4 separate regions of the Homo sapiens genome follow, and all the other regions are linked to region 1. The links are contacts of gene promoters, found by promoter capture Hi-C in blood cells and fetal thymus (Javierre and others, 2016). All regions are on one chromosome and are shown on one strand. The core of a region is centred on a gene start or on the middle of the fragment in contact, and the rest is flanking DNA. Distances in the headings are between cores, read along the strand shown. Region 1 holds the start of MANEA (mannosidase endo-alpha). Region 2 overlaps PNISR (PNN interacting serine and arginine rich protein). Region 3 holds the start of PRDM13 (PR/SET domain 13). Region 4 holds the start of POU3F2 (POU class 3 homeobox 2).

Region 1 (2,700 bases), core at 56-2,555:
ATTTGCAACACATGTAACTTACAAGAGAGAATTAAACTAGAAAAAATAAATATTATCTACAAAATAATTTTCAAAAGCAAGCAATTTAATAAAAAATGAGATAAAATTAAGAACAGGCTTTAGCAAAAGGGAAAATGCAAATTAAAAGAGCAATCAGATGCTCTTATCAGCAAAAACTTAAAAAGTCTAACAATAGCATAAGGGTAACGATGTGCCAGTCTAGTTTATGGGAAATGGACTTGTATACAGACGAATCTCAAAACCTCTCAAAACCTAAATTAGTGAAAAAAGGGGAAAAATGAAGAATGATTCACATATGAAATATAAAACTAGGAAAATAGTATTTTTAGGGAATCGTACATATGTAACTATTTTCAGAAATACAACGGAATGAGTAATATAAAATTCAGCATAATGGTGAACGGAAGGAAGGAGATGTTTTTAGAGAGTCTTCTTTCTAGAAGACTCCAAAAATACTGGCATTTTTTTTTTCTTAAGCTCTGTAGTGGGTACCTGGGCATTTTTCATTCTTCTTTAAGATATGCACATGAGATATACTCATATGTATATTTCCCAATTAAAATTGGTGTACAAAATCTTTTTAAGGAGAGCCCTTATGAAACTGTTCACATCAGCAAGTTCTAGCTTGAATAAGGACTTCCTGTTACTATGTAACCAAACAAAAGATAGCATTTTCTTGTTTTCTGAAGCTAATGTAAGATGGAAACCTTCAGTTGTAATCCTATTTCAAAAGTTCTTGCTCTTCACATCTGACTTATCCTCAATTATTTCTAGTACTTCAGTACAGATGTGATTTTATAGAATACATTCGCAAATTAAAAACGCCATCTCCATCTGCCTACCTTGGGCTTCCAAGTAAAGTTCTATTTTTACAAAAATCAAAACAGTTCCTCAACTTTAAAAGTTTGAAAACCAGTGTACTTGTAAAGCACTTGATGCAAGCAACTTCTGAATGTTTCACATAAAAACAAACAAAAATGTGTCCTCTGTAATACAGTTAGAGCCTCCCAACAGAGCCTCAGAAGACCGTTTCTAAAGGCAGTGAGTTCTACTTGCAGAAATAGGGCGGGAGTGCAGTCTGACTCCAATCCACACGTCCTTCCCCTCTGACAGAACGCCCCAAAACGCAGTCCTCTCTTTCTTCCGCGCCGCTCCCGCCCTAGTCCTCTTAGACCCGCGACCGGAGGCTCCGGAAGACCCCGAGCCCCGCCCGCTCCGTGACCCCGCCCCCACCCGTCCCGCCCCTGAAAGCGCCCGGAACGCTGTGCGCGCGCCTTCGGGGAGGAGGGGCTGTCTGGGCTCGGGGCGCGGCGGCAGTCAGCTCTATGTTCGCGGTCTTAACCTCTCCTCTGGCCGAGTCCTTGCAAGAAGTGAATTACCCGACCCTGGTGAGTAGCTGCAGGAGTCAGACCTCTTGGAGGCGGCGGCGCCAGCAGCGGCGGCAGGCACGAGGTCCACCGCGGGCGCCTGCGCGCTCGCCCGCCAGCCAATCTGGTGGCCGCTTTCCTCCGGGCGCCCTTTGACCCGGCGCCCCTCTGGCAGGCGCTGGTGGCGCCCAGCGGCGAGCCTGTAGCCCCCTCGATTAACCTAGGCTGTCACTCTTAGGCCTGTTTTAGTCTGCGTTAGTTTTACTGCCTTTTACACTGCTTTATCCCCACCTCACTGGCCTCGTCGCCGCCTCCTCTTTGAAACGGTACCTCCTGTCGCCTCGGATTTTCCTTGTCTCCCCGACAAGGTGGAAATTTCGGGTCGGATGGAAGCCTTTTTCAGCACCTTCTCCTTGTGCCCCCAGACTGCCTCTGGGCCTTGAGCCGACCGGGAGAGTAGAAGGATCGAGGCCTGCTGGGCTCTGGGTGCAACGGAAAGGTAGCTGTCGCCTCTGGGCATCGGGAGGAGACCGCCCGATGGCGAGGCCGCTAGAGATGGTTTTTCAGTTCACCTGTTAACGTGTTTGGCACTGTCATCTTAGACTCTTAGCCTTTGCTAAGTCGGGATGCAACAGTGCTGGATTAGTGTTTTTGTTGTTCCTTTTTCCAAAGAAGCAACTTGAAGTACAGGCAGGTATAACTGTTTGGTTTTGTTGTTGTAAGACCCTACGGATAAGTGTTAGGAGAAAATGTGGAAGTGCTATAAAACAACAACAAGGGGGGGATAATGTTGATTAAGAACTTGAAAATAAGAAAAATGGGACTGGAATAGGCTGTTCACGTTAAAGTATTGAGGCAGTAGTTTGAAACAAAAATATAAAGTAAAACCTAGATATTGGTGATACTGTATCACGTTGTTTGCAAATCACTTTCATGACAATACATCTATTTCAGGTGTATCACACCTGAAAAAAACATGAGTGCTGTGAATTTGTGGATTTTCAGGCTCAATGCAGAAAAACACCCCCCAAAACAAAAAATCACAACAATGAAAACACCATTTCCAGAGCTGTTGCTGTTATTCGTGTGACGAATAGTGAATGTATGATCATAAAATAGAATAAGCTGTCTTTAGATGAAGTTTGGGCACAGTTTATGGAGTAGGTAACAGTTAATCATTGTTTATTAGGTACATAATCCTTAATTGAAAACATAACCATATAGCAGCAGCTTTCATCTTGTGTCACAAAAATAACTGGTGTATCCTCTAAATTTGATTTGTCTAATACCTTAAAGGAAGGCAGAATAGCAT
Region 2 (2,700 bases), core at 147-2,646, 3.8 Mb after region 1:
AACATGACCACAGTGGTACAGATTGGGAGTAGATGGCTCTATAAGCCAAGGAACATCAAGGATTGACAAGAACTACCAAAAGCTAGGAAGAGACAAGAATCCCCTACAAAGCCATTAGAGAGCATGCCCTACCAAAACCTCAATTTTACACTGTTAGCCTTCAGAACTGTGGAAGAATAAATTTCTGTTGTTTGAAATCAGCCAGTTTGTGGTAATTTGCTACAATATCCCTAGAAAACTAATACAACCAGAAATGGCCATCATCTATTTTATCCTTTTCTTAAATGTATCTATATTAGAACTTCATCGCTTTGAGGTCCTAAAACAACTTGTTTAAATGACAATCATTTATTTATTATTGAGAAATTCTCACTCTGTCGCCCAGGCTGGAATGCAGCAGTGTGATCTCGGCTTACGGCAACCTCCACCTCCCAGGTTCAAGCAATTCTCATGCCTCAGCCTCCCGAGTAGCTGGGACTACAGGTGCATGCCACCGCGCGAGGATAATGTTTGTATTTTTTAGTAGGGATGGAGTTTCACCATGTTGCCCAGGCTATCCTCAAACTTCTGGCCTCAATGATCCATCCTCCTCAGCCTCCCAAAGTGCTGGGACTACAGGCATGAGCCACCCCGTGTGGCCAAAATGACAATCATTAATATTTACAAAAGTCACTCAGAGACTGTGACAGAGATGGATGAGAATTAAAATGTGGTATTTTAAAGTCCTTGAGCATCAACTACAAAATCAAAGAGCTACAGAAACACATCTATCATTTGATGCATAGGATGAAATATTTCTCAAATCAACCACAAAGCTGAGAAGCCAGAAAATACAACAATCCTCTTCACCCCTGACATTTCAGTCTTACATGAGTTGACTGACCTCAAAGTCAAAAAAGAATTTATTTGTTTAATTCAGATTAGGTGGAAATGGCACTGGTAAAAATTAATCTTGTAATCATTCGAAATACGGAAAACAGAAATTTTGCTACTTTATGTGACATGCATTTTAGTATATACTGAAATACTTGCAGCTTGTAGCTCAAAAGACTATTTTAAAAGTGGAGGACAAGCATGGCGGCTCATGCCTGTAAACCCAGCACTTTGGCAGGCCAAGGTGGGTTCATCACTTGAGGCCAGGAATTCGAGACCAGCCTGGCCAACATGGCGAAACCTCCACTCTACTGAAAATACAGAAATTAGCTGGGCATGGTGGCATATACCTGTAGTCCCAGCTACTTAGCAGGCTGAGGCAGGAGAATCACTTGAACCCGGGAGGCAGGGGTTGCAATGAGCCAAGATTGTGCCACCACTGCACTCCGGTCTGGGAAACAGAGTGACACTCTGTCTCAAAAAAAAAAAAAAAAAAAAAAACTGGAGAATTGGAGAGTCGGTTATAAATACCCCCCCAATAATAATTTAAAAATAAATGTAGCGAGAGCGCCCAAAATGACACCCTAGTAGCAACAAGCACACCTAGGCACGAGAACTTGGTTTTAATACCATTCTTCAATAAAAGGAATCAGAGATCTTTAAAGAAATAGCTGACTCTAGGACTGCGACAGGAAATATAAAAGATGAGTCTGGGGCATGTATACTGCCAGGAAGCAATAAAGTGCTAAAAAAAAAAAAATTGATAGGAACATGTCAAAGGAGAACAGTAGACAACTCGAAGAGCTGCCAATGGCCAAAGCTGGTACAATTTGAGCAACAAAATAAAGAAGTACTGGATTATAATATAAGTTATGTAATAAACATCCACAAGCCCATAAGGATATGATAAAATAAACTAACAAATAAATGTGAGGGAAGACACAAATCTCCCACAGAGAATTCCAAATAAATTATGTAAATATTCCACCCTAACTGAGGAAGAGCACAACTGTCCATTCAGTAAGCGTGGGCTCTGCAAAGTGACTTCCTTCCAAAGAGAACAGTATAAAAAGGGGTGGGGGAAGTAACTTTACAGTGGATAAATCTAACAAACGCTACTCCAGAAGGATGATCAAGGTCAGTAATAATGTGATAAGTCACCTTGATAGTATGTATCCTTGATAGCATGTGTTGAAAAGGGCATCTTACCTCTGTGATCTTCCCCTGATATAGTCCGTAAGGCCATTTTAATCATGAGAAAATCGTCTGGCAAATTCCAATAGCAGGGCACCCTACAATATACCTGACCATACTCCTCAAAAAATGTCAAGGTCACTGTATTAGTTTGGTATGCTTGCCATAACAAAGTACCAAAGACTGGGTGGCTTAAGCAACAGAAATTTATTTCCTCACTGTTCTGGAGGCGTATAGTGTAAGCTCTATGGGGTTGATTTCATTCTAAGGCCTCTCTCCTTGGCTTGTGGATGGTTGTCTTCTCCCTATGTCTTCACATGATCATCCCTCTGTATCCTACTCTCTTCTTATAAGGACAGCAGTTATTAATATATTGGGCTAAGGTCCACCCTAGTGACCTCATCTTCTTTAAAGACCCTCTCTCCAAATACAGTCACGTTCTGGGGTACTGAGGTTAGGACTTCAAGATACGAATTTTAGAGGGGCACAAGTCAGCCCTTAACAGTCATCAAAAACTAGTTAAGCCTGAGAAACTGTCACAGCCAAGAATATACAGCCTAAGAATATACAACAACTAAATGTAATGTGATATCCTAGCTGGCATCCTGGAACAGAAAAAGGACTTTAGGTAAA
Region 3 (2,700 bases), core at 1-2,500, 4.0 Mb after region 1:
ACCACTCAGGCCTCTCTTGGAAGAACTGCATCGGGCTCCGGTGCTGGCTGCATAGGATTTGGGGAGCTGTGCTCAGAACTAGCAGCACGCGGCAGGTGCCGGCAGAAATCACAAATATCTGATGAACTTGATTACTTGGCTACTATTTATGAAAATAAATGTTCTCACGCCAATTGGAGGCTTCCCTAAAAGAAAACGGGTAGCTCTCCGGTTTAACTCTGAAGTACAACGTCTTGTTAGTTCACAAAGTAGGTGTAAGAAAGAGTTGTCCCAAACGCCCACCTCGCCCCTCTTCTCTACAACCTTTAACAGATTGCGGTGATTTTCGTTTTTGTTTACTGTTTTTTTTTTAATAGAAAAGTCCAGGTTGCTGGTTTTAGGGAAGTTAGTCCAAGGACATCTTCTAGGGGACGTGATCAATAACCCACTGGTAGAACTTCTTCCTCTTCAACCCTGGGCTGCGGACCGGGGCGCAGGATCCCCATTCGAAACTGTTGGTTCTGGGGCTGTTTCCCATTCTCCAGAGAAAGTGCAGGCCCGGGGTGTGCCCGAGAAAAGTGATGAGCAGTTGACCTCCCCTTCTCAACTTGGTCTGGAGGCTTCATCATATTTTCGGACGAAATGGGACAGAAGTGAGAATTAAAGCGGTTCTGAATAGACGACTGGCCTGAACCCAATCCCCTGAAATGGTAATATGGTTGTTATTTAAAAAGTGTAGGTATTTTCTGGTGTTTTCCCATCAAGTACCTGCCTAATTTCTGTATGGCACACGCCAGAAATCAATAGTAGTTAACAAGTCCTCCAAACAGTCTCCATCTCTTTGTTTAATCTCCTTTACAATAAAGCCAAGGGGAGAGAATTAAAAATCTTTGAAGTAGATCAAGGCTCAAAGGAATCAGCCAAGTAGACTTAAAGTAGTCACTTATTTCCCAAAACTGGTTTGTCGGGGAACAATAAAAGGAAGTAAAATTTATGGAGAAATTATACAGTGGATTTGTCACTTAAAATATCGTAACTGTCTGGAGGACAATACCCCATGCTGAGGATTAATGGTCCCGCCGGACCTTTGATTCACCAGTGCCTTTTCTTCGCCCTTGACAAATTGGATTTTTAGGAATGGGAAGGTCGCCTGGACCATTGTGTGCTAGCCATTCAGCGGCCTCGATTATGCAGGGGGCTGAGGGAACCACTCCATGTGACCCTCTCGGGTGGGACTCTGCAGCTGCTTCGCAGCGCAACTCTCTCACCAAACTCCGCGCCCTTGCGCTAGCGGTGCCAAAAGGCTCCCGCCCCGATTGAAAAGGCGCAGTGCATGCCCGCCCGCGTCACTCCGCGGGCGGAGGACGCACGTCGGGGCGCGGCTCTCTGGCTAGCGCGCAGCTCCAGCTCTGTCACTCGCGCCCTTCCAAGGACCTGGAGCACCCGAGCGCCTGCCTGGTGGCGGCGGCAACAATGCACGGAGCCGCCAGAGCGCCAGCCACCAGCGTGAGTGCCGACTGCTGCATCCCGGCCGGCTTGCGCCTCGGACCGGTGCCTGGTACCTTCAAGCTGGGCAAGTACCTGTCAGACCGCAGGGAGCCCGGGCCTAAGAAAAAGGTATTGACCATTCAGACCTCTGCCCACTGCCATTCGCCTCTCAGTGCCCTGACCCGGGAAAGGGGTACGAGAGAAAGTGGAGGAAGGGAGTGATTGAGTCGTTACCTGCTAATTCTGCCGGGTGGAAGGGGACTCCTATTATTCTGAGCAAGTAGCCTCTTTAACTGTGAGAGCTGGACGGGGTCGGGCTGAGAGGAGAGGATGTGGCCGAGAGGCGACAGCCCTGGGTGGGGTGCACTGAGCGCTGTAGGTGCCGGGACCATTCGCAGCTTGTGTTTTCCCCTGCGCTCTCGGGTCTCCTCAGTCAGAAGCCAGAAGCCCACCCCCGCACGCTGTCCGCAGCTCTCTCTGCAAAAGCACCCTCTTTCTGGGGGCTCAGGGCATCGAGACCCTTTCTTCCCTTCTGCCCTTCAATATGTTAATTTGAGGCCTAATTTCGCCTTAAAGTAATTTTTTTTCCTGAAAAAAAAAATCTTTGGGAGGCTCTCAGTTCCTAGAACCTCCTCAGATATTTTTTTTTCCCTTGCCGATGTCGGCTTGTGGGTATGCGGCATATGGAGAGAGGATGAGCAAGGTACTGGCTCTGACGCGGGCTCCAAGGGCGAGGCGCGCCCATTCGCGCGGGGCACAGGGTCAGAGCGTCTGCAGCGGGGCTCTGAGAGTCCAGAGGCCCAACCGGGAGGCGCCAGGGCCAAACCACTAGCTTTGACTCCCACACTCCACACACCGTCGCGACCCCTGACCAGAGAGACTTATAGCACTCGCCCGCTTTGGGGGCGTCCCAGGAGCCAAAGGTCGGCAAACAGCGACCGGGAAATGAAGGCAGAAGTCTGGGGTAGAAGAAAGGACTTTGGCTTCCTTGGCTTTAGCTTGCCTTGCTTGGAGCTTTCTAGTAAAAAGCTCCGGTGTCCAGCCAGCGGGACTTGCACCTCGCTCCTCCTGCAATCACGCCCCCCACTACAGTCTAAAGCGGGGTTTGGTGCCCACCGCGCATTCCTCTTTAAACGCGTTTTAATTGCTTTTAAATGGCCTGCCAGCTGCGGGCAAGCTTTTCCCCGCTTGGGCTTTGTTCCGAGACTTTAGCTGCAGGGCTCACAGGCAACT
Region 4 (2,956 bases), core at 166-2,665, 3.3 Mb after region 1:
CTGCGTGGCGGTCACGCCGCTCCAGCCTGGGTCCGCGCCCAAGTTCTAGCTACCGGGCTTGCAGGCTCGGAAACTCGCAGGCGGCACCTGCTCTGGGCGGCTAAAGAACTGATGGCGCGACGCGCCCGCGCTCCGTAGAGCGGCGCTGCGGGTGCATGGTCCCATAGTCTTGCTCTGGAGTTCACTGCTGAAAGCTGAGCTGGGAGCTTGGCCAGGGAGCGCCAAAGACATAGACTAACCCCACCCGCTAGCGCCCACCGAAGTTACTGATTAGGAAGGTTCCCCTGGCATCAGCCCATTTGCTTCACACACTCTTCCTCCTTCCCAAGGGGCTAACGGAAAAGTTGCACCTACCAGCGGTAGGAGCACGGGGAATCGCGCACGCAGGCCCTCCGCGCGGCTTCCCGGAGCGGCCTTTGGCGACTGCGCCGCCCCTACAAGGCCGCACACCCCTCGCCAGCACTCCGGCAGCCTCGCACAAGACGGAGCCCACGCAGGCTTCTAGTTTTCTAAACCAAAAACTGCACGCGCCGGCGTGTGAATCTGACGGAGAGACTTTTAGAGTTTTGTTTGGTTTTCAGTTCAGACCGCTACGCTGTCAGAGCAAGCAACTCCGAGCCTTGATGGGAATGACTTACAAGCCGCGGTGCGGGCTGAGCCTGCCTCTCTCGGGGTTCTTTCCCCAAGGGAGTGGGAGACAATTGGGCCTGGAACCTAAAAGGAAGAGAGCCTGTGCTAGCCGCGGGGTAGAGGGGAAGGAGAAGAGCTTTGGGCCGAAGTGTCCGCACACCCTGGAGCAAGAGACACTTGTGCACTGAAATTCTAACCGTGGGATGCAAGGAGAGTTGAACAGGGGAACAGGTCTGGCTCTTGGCTCTAGGTTTAAGAGATACACACTGTGTGTGTGTCCCTAGGTGAATAAAAATCCGACTCCCGCTGGCTCGGTGCGACCCAGCTTTTCCCTTACCCCCTCCGTTTCCCCATCTTAAAGCCCTATTGGGAAACGAAAGTGGACACCACTGCCTCCCGCCCCCCACCCCAATCCAAGTCTTCCAAGTGTCTGTGGCCGATAAGAGCACCGGGACCGCCCCCCTGCCGGTCTTCTCTGCCTGGGAGACAGATGGGGGGCGGGGCCCATCCGAGAGAGGGCGGAGGAGGCCCCGGGTGAGGAAGAAGCGGGGGGGTGAGAACTGAGAGAATCTGAATCGGGAGGCGAAGGGGACGGGGAGGAGGGCTAGGAGGACTCCGAGCCCGGGGGAGGGGGAGGGAGTAGCTCTGCGCCAATCAGTGGCGCCGGCCTGGGAGGTTGCTAGCGGTATCCACGTAAATCAAAGGGCGCGGAGCCAATGGGAGGGGGCGGAGGGGGCGGGGCCCAGGCGCGTGCCGCTGCGAGCCGGCGCTGCCAAGAGAGCGGGAGAGAGCTGGAGAGAGCAGGGAGAGGGGGGAGCGCCGAGCTAGTCAGAGAGTGAGCGAGAGCGAGAAGGAGGGAGAGGAGGAGAAAGAGAGCGAGGGCGGGCGGGAGGCGGCGGCGGCGGCAGCAGCAGCAGTAATAGCAGGAGCAGCAACAGAAGGCGTCGGAGCGGGCGTCGGAGCTGCCCGCTGTGGGAGAGAGAGGAGACAGAAAGAGCGAGCGAGGAGAGGGAGCCCGAGGCGAAAAAGTAACTGTCAAATGCGCGGCTCCTTTAACCGGAGCGCTCAGTCCGGCTCCGAGAGTCATGGCGACCGCAGCGTCTAACCACTACAGCCTGCTCACCTCCAGCGCCTCCATCGTGCACGCCGAGCCGCCCGGCGGCATGCAGCAGGGCGCGGGGGGCTACCGCGAAGCGCAGAGCCTGGTGCAGGGCGACTACGGCGCTCTGCAGAGCAACGGACACCCGCTCAGCCACGCTCACCAGTGGATCACCGCGCTGTCCCACGGCGGCGGCGGCGGGGGCGGTGGCGGCGGCGGGGGGGGCGGGGGCGGCGGCGGGGGCGGCGGCGACGGCTCCCCGTGGTCCACCAGCCCCCTGGGCCAGCCGGACATCAAGCCCTCGGTGGTGGTGCAGCAGGGCGGCCGCGGAGACGAGCTGCACGGGCCAGGCGCCCTGCAGCAGCAGCATCAGCAGCAGCAACAGCAACAGCAGCAGCAACAGCAGCAACAGCAGCAGCAGCAGCAGCAACAGCGGCCGCCGCATCTGGTGCACCACGCCGCTAACCACCACCCGGGACCCGGGGCATGGCGGAGCGCGGCGGCTGCAGCGCACCTCCCACCCTCCATGGGAGCGTCCAACGGCGGCTTGCTCTACTCGCAGCCCAGCTTCACGGTGAACGGCATGCTGGGCGCCGGCGGGCAGCCGGCCGGTCTGCACCACCACGGCCTGCGGGACGCGCACGACGAGCCACACCATGCCGACCACCACCCGCACCCGCACTCGCACCCACACCAGCAGCCGCCGCCCCCGCCGCCCCCGCAGGGTCCGCCTGGCCACCCAGGCGCGCACCACGACCCGCACTCGGACGAGGACACGCCGACCTCGGACGACCTGGAGCAGTTCGCCAAGCAGTTCAAGCAGCGGCGGATCAAACTGGGATTTACCCAAGCGGACGTGGGGCTGGCTCTGGGCACCCTGTATGGCAACGTGTTCTCGCAGACCACCATCTGCAGGTTTGAGGCCCTGCAGCTGAGCTTCAAGAACATGTGCAAGCTGAAGCCTTTGTTGAACAAGTGGTTGGAGGAGGCGGACTCGTCCTCGGGCAGCCCCACGAGCATAGACAAGATCGCAGCGCAAGGGCGCAAGCGGAAAAAGCGGACCTCCATCGAGGTGAGCGTCAAGGGGGCTCTGGAGAGCCATTTCCTCAAATGCCCCAAGCCCTCGGCCCAGGAGATCACCTCCCTCGCGGACAGCTTACAGCTGGAGAAGGAGGTGGTGAGAGTTTGGTTTTGTAACAGGAGACAGAAAGAGAAAAGGATGACCCC

What was found. The method cuts DNA at HindIII sites, captures the fragments that hold promoters and counts their contacts. A CHiCAGO score of 5 or more calls a contact.
Region 2: a fragment that was not itself captured here is called in contact with the fragment with the promoter of MANEA in region 1 in 1 of 17 cell types (fetal thymus); the score reaches 5.2 in fetal thymus.
Region 3: the fragment with the promoter of PRDM13 here is called in contact with the fragment with the promoter of MANEA in region 1 in 1 of 17 cell types (non-activated CD4 T cells); the score reaches 6.6 in non-activated CD4 T cells.
Region 4: the fragment with the promoter of POU3F2 here is called in contact with the fragment with the promoter of MANEA in region 1 in 3 of 17 cell types (total B cells, non-activated CD4 T cells and naive CD8 T cells); the score reaches 11.5 in total B cells.

Annotation. Positions count from the first base shown.
Region 1 is chr6:95,576,230-95,578,929 of GRCh38, forward strand. MANEA (mannosidase endo-alpha) reads left to right here and starts at 1,306. Exons shown (of 5, transcript NM_024641.4): 1 at 1,306-1,409. It overlaps MANEA-DT (MANEA divergent transcript), which reads right to left and starts at 1,222. Exons shown (of 3, transcript NR_104136.1): 1 at 864-1,222. RefSeq lists silencers at 1,046-1,125, 1,176-1,265, 1,546-1,605 and enhancers at 1,402-2,342, 1,806-1,905. The HindIII fragment of the contact is 3,606 bases long and covers 1-2,700 here.
Region 2 is chr6:99,421,526-99,424,225 of GRCh38, forward strand. All of the region lies in intron 1 of PNISR (PNN interacting serine and arginine rich protein), which reads right to left. Among named protein-coding and RNA genes, the nearest start is that of PNISR-AS1, 2.0 kb to the right of the region's middle. The HindIII fragment of the contact is 3,652 bases long and covers 1-2,700 here.
Region 3 is chr6:99,605,583-99,608,282 of GRCh38, forward strand. PRDM13 (PR/SET domain 13) reads left to right here and starts at 1,251. Exons shown (of 4, transcript NM_021620.4): 1 at 1,251-1,596. The coding sequence starts at 1,453. The HindIII fragment of the contact is 6,161 bases long and covers 1-2,642 here.
Region 4 is chr6:98,833,159-98,836,114 of GRCh38, forward strand. It overlaps POU3F2 (POU class 3 homeobox 2), which reads left to right and starts at 1,416. Exons shown (of 1, transcript NM_005604.4): 1 at 1,416-2,956. The coding sequence starts at 1,716. RefSeq lists a silencer at 1,357-1,426 and enhancers at 2,065-2,134, 2,133-2,729, 2,730-2,956. The HindIII fragment of the contact is 14,703 bases long and covers 1-2,956 here.